Regions from separate parts of the Homo sapiens genome. Here all the other regions are linked to region 3. Evidence: promoter capture Hi-C in human tissues and cell types (Jung and others, 2019). All regions are on one chromosome and are shown on one strand. Each heading gives the region's core, a stretch centred on a gene start or on the middle of the fragment in contact. The rest is flanking DNA. Distances are from core to core; before and after follow the strand shown.

What was found. Contacts are between HindIII fragments. The study calls those that stand out against the background at their distance.
Region 1: a fragment that was not itself captured here is called in contact with the fragment with the promoter of SEZ6L in region 3 in 3 of the 25 tissues and cell types used here (H1 embryonic stem cells, IMR-90 fibroblasts and mesendoderm cells).
Region 2: a contact is called between a fragment that was not itself captured here and the fragment with the promoter of SEZ6L in region 3, in 4 of the 25 tissues and cell types used here (H1 embryonic stem cells, aorta, mesendoderm cells and 1 more).

Annotation. Positions count from the first base shown.
Region 1 is chr22:26,236,382-26,239,781 of GRCh38, forward strand. All of the region lies in intron 1 of SEZ6L (seizure related 6 homolog like), which reads left to right. Among named protein-coding and RNA genes, the nearest start is that of SEZ6L-AS1, 8.5 kb to the right of the region's middle. RefSeq lists an enhancer at 3,211-3,400. The HindIII fragment of the contact is 5,989 bases long and covers 1-3,400 here.
Region 2 is chr22:26,261,630-26,264,797 of GRCh38, forward strand. The region is part of intron 1 of SEZ6L (seizure related 6 homolog like); the gene reads left to right. Among named protein-coding and RNA genes, the nearest start is that of SEZ6L-AS1, 17 kb to the left of the region's middle. The HindIII fragment of the contact is 4,858 bases long and covers 1-3,168 here.
Region 3 is chr22:26,167,457-26,170,912 of GRCh38, forward strand. SEZ6L (seizure related 6 homolog like) reads left to right here and starts at 2,006. Exons shown (of 17, transcript NM_021115.5): 1 at 2,006-2,307. The coding sequence starts at 2,214. LOC105372971 (a long non-coding RNA gene) reads right to left here and starts at 1,778. Exons shown (of 6, transcript NR_188586.1): 1 at 1,547-1,778. RefSeq lists a silencer at 2,029-2,158 and an enhancer at 2,985-3,456. The HindIII fragment of the contact is 7,592 bases long and covers 254-3,456 here.

The DNA of each region.
Region 1 (3,400 bases), core at 776-3,275, 69 kb after region 3:
TGGCTCAGCCATTGCCAGCGGCTCTCCAAAACAGACCCTGTCTTATTTTTTATTCCATTTATTTATGCATTTGGTCGATCTCTCTGGGAAGGTAAGTTTTTAAAATACTGGGTATGGAAACAGGAGATAGTCAAACTTTCCGAGCCTGTGGACTTGATTGATTGAGGTTGTGACATTTATTTCCAAAGCATCCTTCAAAAAGTTGGTTATAGACTAAACCACCAGTTTCAAATCTGGGGTCCCCCTGACTCTAATAGTCTTTGAAAGGAGTGATGGGCAGGGAGAGGAGGGGGCTGAGAGAGAAACGAAGTGTTTTGAAAACTCTAATGGAGATTCTACTTAGCAAAACTAAGGCTGAATGTGCTAGCTAAAAAGGTCAGGTTTTTCTGGCTTAAAATCAATCAGTAATACCTGCAGGATGACATCCTGACCATGGCCTCTGAGCCTCAGCTTGGTGTGGCTACCATTAGCCTCTCCTCTGCCTTCTGTCCATGCAGAAGCCCCCATACACAACAGTCCCCCTAACACACCAGCCTTATTCATATCCAGAACCCTCAACCAGAACCTGTCTCTGCTCCCCCTTTCATTCTCTGCCTCGCTCTCAGTCTTCCCACTCCCAGAAGCTGCCACTGACCATCCAGGCTGGGCTAGCTGCCAGGGAGTCCTAGGCAGTGGGATGTTGAGTCACACAGGGATAGGTTCAAATCCAGGCTTAGCTGCTCAACTCGAGGTGTGACTTCCCCACTTCCCCTCCCTGAGCCTCAGTTTCCCTGTGTGTCAAACAAGGATAATCAAGTTTCTACCTAATATGGTTGTCATGAGAACTATTACGTAAAGCTTCTTAGCACTGACTCGCTGCTGAGTAAGCTCTAATTCACGTTAGCCACTGCTTCATTCCTTCAATTACACGCCTGTTTCCCACAATGAGCAGGGACCAGGTCTTTTGCCTATTCTCAGGTTCTGGTGCAACGTCTCACAAATAGGAAACTCCCAATAAAATGTTTGCATGTAGAAATCCAAAGATGTCAGAGTGGAAGCCAGAGCCACTTATACAGTGGATAAACCTGGCAAGTTATTTCACCTCTCTGTGCCTCAGTTTCTTCATCTATAAGATGGGTATCCTGATGATACCTACCTGTTGGGTTGTTAGGAGGATGAAGTGAGTTCATATATGCAAAGTGCTTGGAACAAAGTAAACACTACACCAGTGTTGCTCTTATTGTTTTACTAAAACCAAGGAACTGAGTGATTTATTTGTTCACCAATACAGTGTGGAAGACAAAGCACATTTTACTGTGGACAATGCATAGTGGGTGGGTGGATATTAATGATGAAATGGTTAGGGCTACTGAGGCAGCCTCATCTGCCACCCACCCCACCCCACCTGCTCCTAGGCCTCCAAGCCTGTGAAGGTGGGGAATAATGATTTGGATTTTTTTTTTAATCAGCAGAGCACAAGTGTGCTATTTCACATGCCGGCTGTTTAAGTGTACACCTAGTTACAGCTGACTGCCTTGGATGATTGGTTGAGAGGGCTGAGTTCCCGTTTGTCCCCAATCAATCTGGAAACTGAAAAGGAGCCAGAATATTCATTTTCCACCATCAAGCCTGCAGCCCAGGATTATTGTTGATAAAGGAGCTGTGGAACCCAAGTTCCCCGGGGGAGATGGAAGAGTAAACATCTTACTGATATCCCAGGGCAGTGGATGAACAGAGGTCGGGATTTGAGCAAATCATGTCCCTATTATTAATTAAAGGGGCAGGGCATTGGTCAGAGCAGGCAGAAGGGCAAAGGGGCTAAGGAATAGCTGTGGGCCCCATGCAGTTGATGAAAAGGTTGTGTCCTAGAAGGGTTTAGCCTGAAGGGCTGCGTAGGCATTCAGGCTGGTATTTTGTACGGACCCACTGTGAGCCACTACGGGGCAAAGCACTCAGGAGGGAAACACAGAAGGATGTGCAAGAACTAAAAATATGCATTCCATCTGGAAGAAGACAAAAGTTGAGGAACCGTGTTTATGAAGATGGCCTCATGACAAGATGGCATTCATTCAACCACTCCTTCATCCACTTCAAAACTGTTGATTAGCACCTGTGTTGAGCCAGGCAGTTCCGATCCCTTGCGGATGTCAAATAGGAGTAAAACGCAGGCACTGCTTCCCAGGAGACAGCAGCATAAGTGGCCAGATAAAGAAAGTACATAAATAATAACAGCTGTAGCAATAATAGCAAAAATAGTAATACCTGCTGTTTTTTGGGCACCAACAATAAGCCAGGCTTCGCATAAGTTATTTCATTCAATATTCTCCATTGCTTAATGAGATGATAGGTCCTATTTTTACCCTGAGTTTGCAGATGGAAAAGCTGAGGCATGGAAATCGTTAGTCACTTGACTGAGGTTCATGCAGTTAGGAAGGAACCATGATTCAAACCAGTTCCTTCCAACTTAAACCCCTGCTGGTCACACTAGGCTGCTCTGCCTCTCGAATAACTAGAACAACATGTTGTAACTGCTGGGTTGAAGCTGCAGAAAGTCCAGTGTGACTTTAGAAGTGTAACTGGGCCTCTACATAGTGGCTCAACCCTGTAATCTCAACACTTTGGGAGGCCAAGGTAAGAGGATCACCTGAGGCCAGGAGTTCAAGACTAGCCTAGGCAACATAGCAAGACCCCATCTCTACAAAAAATTTAAAAAATTAGCAGGGCATGATGTCATGTGCTTGTAGTCCCAGCTACTTGGGAGGCTGAGGCGGGAGGATTACATGAATCCAGGAATCTGATGATGCAGTGAGCCATGATCGGGCCACTGCTCTCCAGCCTGGGCGGCAATGTGAAACCCTGTCTCAAAAAAAGGAGGGGGAGCATCTGGCCAGCTGGGGGGCAGGGTGGAGTGGAGAGGGCTGTGGCTTTAGGTCCCCTATCCCCAGCACACACCTCAGCATTTGCTCATAGTAGATGGTCAAGAAGCACTTGCCAGTTAGCCAGCAAGTTCTTTGGAAGCCTTCTCAAGCATCATCAGACAGGTTCTGCACCCTCTTGTTCAATGCTGTTCACAAAGCAGCATTTTATCCAGTGAGACCATGAAAAGGGATTGTGGGAATCTTCATTTTGTATAGAAGGAACTGCAACTAGCGAGAAGGAGAATCCACACCTAAATCCAAGCCTCCAGTACTCTGAAACCAAAGTTCTTTCCCTCAGCCTTGGAGCCTCTGGGAGGACTGATTCAAGATGAGACCCCAGACCCCTGACTCCAACCCCAAATCCTTCTAACTCCACCTGCTACCTCTTCCTCAGATCCAAGGGGCAACTTATCTTCCCCTGGTTTCTTATCAGCATGGAACAGCTGTGGTTTTCTGACTCACAGAGCCGCTGAGGTTGTAAAACATTCTCTTTTCACTTTCCA
Region 2 (3,168 bases), core at 494-2,993, 94 kb after region 3:
GACAGACTCTGAACAAGGAGTTACAAGAGAAATACACAGAGGAGACAAGTAGTGTGTGCCTACTAAGCATAAAGTACAGATGCTGTAAAAAGACAAAATTGGCCAAGGTGAGGTCTCTCCTTTGAAAGAATAGAGTTGGGAGGGTAGATAAGCGTGAATAAAATGGGGATGAAATAATAAAAAGTGTGGTTCAGGCAAAATTGATACGAGTATTTTGGAGAAGTCAGATTGGACTGAGATTATTGGAGGTAGCTTTAAGGAGGAGGTGGGATTGGTCAAGGAGGAGCAACAGAGGAGACCAGTGGATTTCAGCTGAGTGATCATCCAGAAGTGAGGAAGAGTTAGCCTCCACGATTGGGAAACAGAGGGAAATAAGGAGTTTGTTTGACCCAGCCCTAGTGGGTCTTGAAAGCTTAGTCAAACCATTTGGGTTTTCTCTTGTTTCCAGGGTAGCAAGTGAGTTCTATGAGACAAAAGAATTCTGGAAATAATCTGTTGGCCAGAGGTATAATGGGAATATATATATATATTTAATATATTGATATACAAACAAATATATATTTATATTGATATATAAAAGATATATATATGCACCTTTTATATATTGATATATTTTATCTATCTATCTATCTATCTATCTATCTATCTATCTATCTCTTTTAAAAAGAAATACATGGCCCTTCTTGTGAGAAGAAGAACATATATGGCAGGTGTGAGACTCAACTGCAGCACATCTCCTCATGTAAATCTGCAGAAATCTTTGAGGGAAAAAGGGAAAGATATTAATCCAGATGTGATTAGGAACCAGGATGTAACATACAAACTCATTCATTTATTCTTGTATTCAAGTATTTAGTACATAGCCTTTTCTATGTGCCCATATTGCAGCTGCTGGTGCTAGTTTTATAAACGCAAATACCATTCCCATTCTCAGGCTTCTTTCCTAGTGTGAAGGACAGACGTAAGTGTTACCAGCACAGGGAGCTCAGGGAGCTTGTAATGGGTGACAAAACTAGTCTAGAAAGCCAGAGAGGTGATATTTAAGCAGAGAACCTGAAATCCAGGTAAGAAAGACTAGCCAGACGGGAGAAGGAGGACCAGCATGTGCATGGGTCGATGGGGGAGCTTCTGAAAGCCCAGGACATGAAGCTCAAATTCTTTATCAAGAGAAACCTTGGTCCCTAAAGGGAGACCACCATGAGTTCACTAGACTTTCAAAGCAAATCACAAGGGTGACGAAATGGTTTGAGCACAGGGCTGAGAACTTTGATTTCTTTTCAATTCACAAAATTACTAAGCTCATATTTTGAGCAGCTACATCCATTTTCCCTTCTTCCCATAGTCTTGCCCTGCTATATTGACTACCATTCAGTCTCAGAATTAATGTCATTTCCACAAAGAAGCCCCCAGGAGCACCTAGCCCTGGTTCCCCTAAATTCCTATGGAAAGGACTCTTGGTATCACTCAGCACTTTCATGCTTCCCATGGTCTACCGGGTGCCACATGCCACATTAACTCCTCCCCTGGACTCATTTCCACAACCACCCAAGAGGGGGAAGTTATTACCTGCAGAGTTTACAGTCCTGCATTTCAAATCCAACACCACTGCCTACTGTGTAACCTGGAGGCAAGTATGTTTACTTCTCTGAGCCTTCTTGTCGTCATTTGTAAAACAAGCCTTGCAGAAGTAGCCCCCACCCGTCAGGGTGCATGTGACGGCTAATGGAGATATGCAAGTGCGCTTAGCACTGTGTCTGCTCATCCATGTCTCAATATCTCTGGATGAGACATCAAGACTCAGATAAGTAAAATAAAGCATCCAAGGTCACCTCATGTGTAAGTGGAAGATGCTGGATTTGAATGAAAAGTTCTGTGACTCCAAAATCCACATTCTTTCCATCCTGCCATAATGCCTTTATTGACATCCTTTTATCTTCTCAAATCACACATTTAAGGAATACAGACCCTACGTCCAGCTCTGCACAAATGTTGTCCCAATTCCCAACGATCATCTGAGATAGACAGTTTCCCTTTTATGCAGTGGCCTGTAGGGCAAATCTGATCTTCCCAAAGCTGGTCCTTACTCAGCATTTACAGTGCAGGAAAATCTCCACTCCACCTGGTTGCTCAGGCAGAAGCCTGGGCATCCTCCTTGATCTCTTCCTTCTCTCAGCCTTCTCCCGTCTCTATCCAACTCAATCCCAAGACTTCTTGACTCTAAACAGATCTGTTTTAAATCTTGTTCACCTTTTAGTCCCCACAGCTAGCCATGCCTCATCATCTCTCACCTGGACTGATCTTTTTGCTTCCACCCTTAATCCCTCTCAAAGCTCCAGCCAGAAAGTAGAGTGATCTTTGCAATTCTAGTGATGTCCCCTCTACCTCACGTGTGAAACCCCCCATTGCTTTTGACAGAGCATCTAAATCCTGCAACATGGACAGCTAAGATTATCGTTGGCCATCTCTCAGATCAAGGATTCCAGTCACAAAACTTGGTGTTAGCAACACAAAGAGTAAACTCAGGGTCATTCCAATTCTGGAATCTTGGCAGATTCTGAGGCTGCATTTGCTAGGGCAAGCACTGCCTGGGAGGATGTGAATATTTGGTAACTGTGAGAGTTCTGAGGTTGACAACAGAGCACAGGCTTTGTCAGGGCCCTCTCTGGTCAGAGGCACATGGATCAGGAAAAGCTTCTGCCCCGATCTTGTCACTTTGTAGCTGTGTGACCTTTGGCAAATCACTTAACCTCTCTGAGCTTCAGTTCTGTTTATTATGCAAATACAAATGAGGAAGATGGATGAAACAAGCTGTATGACTTCCAGAATTTAATGCCAAAATGGGTCATTAGATAGAACCCATGAAATTATCAAAATTTGACCTTTTTAAAGTTTACCTATTAAAATACATGGTAATATCATATGTTTATACTTCTCTAAAGGAACAGACATTTGCCAGGGCTGGCAAACTTTTTCTCTAAAGGGCCAAATAGTAAATATTTTATGCTTTGATGGTTATTTAGTCTCTGGGGCATCTATTCAACTCTGCATGAAAGCATCCTTAGACAATACATAAAAAGAAAAAGCAGGACCATGTTCCAGTGAAACTTAATTTACAAAAACAGGAGGAAAGCCAAATTTGGCCAGTGGGCTGTAGTTTGCCAATGCCTG
Region 3 (3,456 bases), core at 756-3,255:
GAATGAGATCATGTTCTTTGCAAAAACATGAATGGAGCTGGAGACCATTATCCTTAGCACACTAATGCAGGAACAGAAAACCAAATATCACAAGTTCTCACTTATAGGTGGGAGCTAAATGATGAGAGCACACAGACACATAGAGGGGAACAACACACACAGAGGCCTACCAGAGGGTGGAAGGCAGGAGGAGGGAGAGGATCAGAAAAAAATTACTATTGAGTACCAGGCTTAATACCTGGTTGGTGAAATCATCTGTACAACAAACTCCCATGACACAAGTTTGCACACATAACAAACCTGCACAAGTACCCCTGAACCTAGGAATTAAAAATAGTTTCCTTGCCTCCAAGTATGGAGCTAAACTACCTCTTCGTTTTTCTCTCGCTCGCTTTCTTCCCTTTCCCCTCCTCCTCCATCTTCCTTGCTTCTTTAGGTTTCCATTGAACAAGTCTCACTGAGCACCCGCTGCATGCCTGCATTATACTATACAGAGCCTGAGCGTATAGCCACAAACAGGCAAGGTCATTCCACAGAGAGCTGGCAGCCTCATACAGTAAAGCATGGAGTGCTTCATCTTCTCCAAAGGAGAAATCAGCACTCCTGCATCCCTGCCTCAGCCACCTTCTTTATAAAAGCCAGTTGGGTTTACTGCCAGGAATGGAAACCTCTTGCAGCTGAAGATAGGATTTTATGGGGGGGCTCTCTGTCCCCCAAAGCCTGAGGCAGGTCTGGGCCTATAGTCAGTGGCCTGTAAAAGAGCATTGTTTGAGTGAGTAAATGGGGAAGCTCTGGGTGTGGAGCGTCTTCTGAAACCCTGGGCCAGAGTGCTTCTCCTTCCCTCCTCCATCCAGTGTTCACCTCCCCCACCCATTCTTTCTAGGGACTCCCGGCTCCACCACGCTGCTAAAGACATATTCCTCCCCCTGTTGCTGCCTGCAACCTTCTCTCCATCTGCTCCCTCTGCCTGTTCAGGCTGCAGTGTGTAGATAGTATGGCAAGGTAGGGTAGGGGGAGGAGGACAGCTTCTAAATTGGGTGAGAGGCCTGTAAAGCCTGACCGGTCTGCCAAGGCTACGCAGGGAGAGACAGTCAGTCTCCAGGACTGTGCATAAGCTTGTCCCCACCTAGCTCTCTGCCAATGTCTGTCCCCAAGTATCTGTTTATCTCCCTCATTGATTGTCCCTCACTACCTCTATTTGTGGAGAAAAGACTTTGCTTGAGAATCAGGCCTGGGCAAGAATGCTGCAGAGGTGGGCCTTGTAGTCCTGCTCAGATAGGGAAGCGGGTACAGGAAGAGGCAAGCGGCTGACCTGAGAGGAAGCCTCGCAGCGCTAGTGCCCTGCCGGCAGTGGGGTTATGGGAGACAGGGCTCAGATTAAAAAGTGGAGGTGGATCTTAATTTAGAGTTCGTGATTGGGCTTCAGAGGGGTCCAGACCCCCTCGTGTTAGATGCACGATTTTGTGGCTATGTGTAGTGTTCTAGTAGATTCACAGCTGTCACCAGATCCACAGAGTTACAGACTTTCTAGGTTATGGGGACTCACTTTGGAAGCAGTGAGGCCCTGGCGGGGAAGCAGGCTGGCTGGATCCCAGAGGGCTCTGGAAAGAACTGGAACTGGGATGTATCTGGAAGGCTGGGCAGGCAATGGAAAGCTCCGGGCTGCTCATAAGCTCGGTTTCCAGGGCTCCATCTCACCGTCTGGAAAATGGTCCGGGTGCTCTCCAGCCTGGCCTGGCCAGGCAGAGCTGCTGGGAGCGTCAGCAGGGAGAGAAAACGCTCGGCTCCCAGGACGCAAGGGGAATTGGCGTTAAACTTTGCAGGGCCGACGGGCCGGCGGCCAGAGGAGGCGGCTGGCACCCCCGGCGCCGCCGCGGCCCCTCCAGCTCACTGCCCGCTCGCCCGCCCCCTCCCTCCCTGCACTCGCTCGGCACAGACTCGGCCCCAGCCCCCTCCCTCCTCCCGCTCGCTCCACGCTCGTTCGCTCGCTCGCCGGCTCCTCCTCACTCGCCCGCCCGCGCCCGGCGCAGCTCGGCCAGAGCGACCGCGGGGCTGAGCGCGCGTCCGCCCAGGGGGCTCCGGAAGCTGCCCCGGCCCGCGGCCTCCTCCCTCGCTCCCGCTTCCCCTTTCTCGCTCACCGCCGCCCTCCTTCCCCAGCTCCCTCGCCGTCCGCCCGCCCCACAGCCAGCGGCTCCGCGCCCCCTGCAGCCACGATGCCCGCGGCCCGGCCGCCCGCCGCGGGACTCCGCGGGATCTCGCTGTTCCTCGCTCTGCTCCTGGGGAGCCCGGCGGCAGCGCTGGAGCGAGGTAAGCGCCCCGAGGGGCGGGGCGGGCAGGGGGCAAAGTTGCCGGGAGAGCGGGGCAGCCAGGGGTCGGGGCTGACCAGGGCGACTCAGGCACCACCCGCCGGGATGGGAAGCGGTGGTGGCTGTCCAAAATCGGGGCTAGGAACCGCACGTCCCCTTGGCCCGGGCTGATGGGAGTGTGGAGGCGGGGATGTGTTGAAGGACTCGGGCGCTTCCCTGCTTCGGCTGCGGGCTCCCTTTCGGTCTTCCCCGGCTGCGGGGCTGATTCTCCTTTGCAGCCAAAGAGGTTCTCCTTGGAGTGGGGTCGCCTCCAAACCCCAAATTCCCGGCGCTTCTCTGCAACCGCACCCGGGGCTAGGTGCCAGATAATTATCTTCCTCTCCGGGAGAGGACAGGAAGGGGGGTGAGAAGCTGACCCACCCTGCAACTGAGGACTAGACTCAAACAGTGCATTTGCCGCTCCCCCCGACACCACAGAAACCCTTGACTCCTTTGGTTCAGGCTACCCCGAGGGTCTGTGTTCCTGGATCGATCTCAGCCAAGCGTCAGGATACCGGACTTGGGTGTGGCTTTCGCTAGAGGCCGGTGGAGGGGGCTGAGGGCTCTGAGAACTTGGTAGGGGAGGGAGAAGAGATGTTAGTTAGCAGTTGGGAACCTGAACGGGCTCCCCTCTACTCTCTCCCCTACTGCCTAGCATCTCTGATCACTGTTAGGAATGGGGGGTGAGGGGTGTTAGTTTCATCTACCACGTGTTTGTTGAAGGGGAAGAGGGGCCCAAATTTAGCAGAGAATGACAGCTCCTCTTTCTCAGACCTGGAACCATACCCTCTCTCCACCCCGGTAAGGTACCCCAGGAAAAGTTATGGGTGGGGGAGAGGGCCAGATAGAGAGAGGGGTGCAACGCCTAACTCACCCAAAGCTAACCCTCAGAGCTTCGGGGGTTTTCTCAGGCACCTAGGAGACCCGAAAATCAATGGGAGGGTTAGTTGGCCACAGGACCCGGCCTTCTTGCAAGGTCCCAGAAATGCGCTCCTCACGTGTAAAAAAGCAGACAGCTGCAGGGTCTGCCCAGGCTGAAGACAGAGGGAGCGCAGGCACTATGCTTATCTGGGGCTCCGCCTCTGTCATTTGCACCGTCTTGACTCGGAGT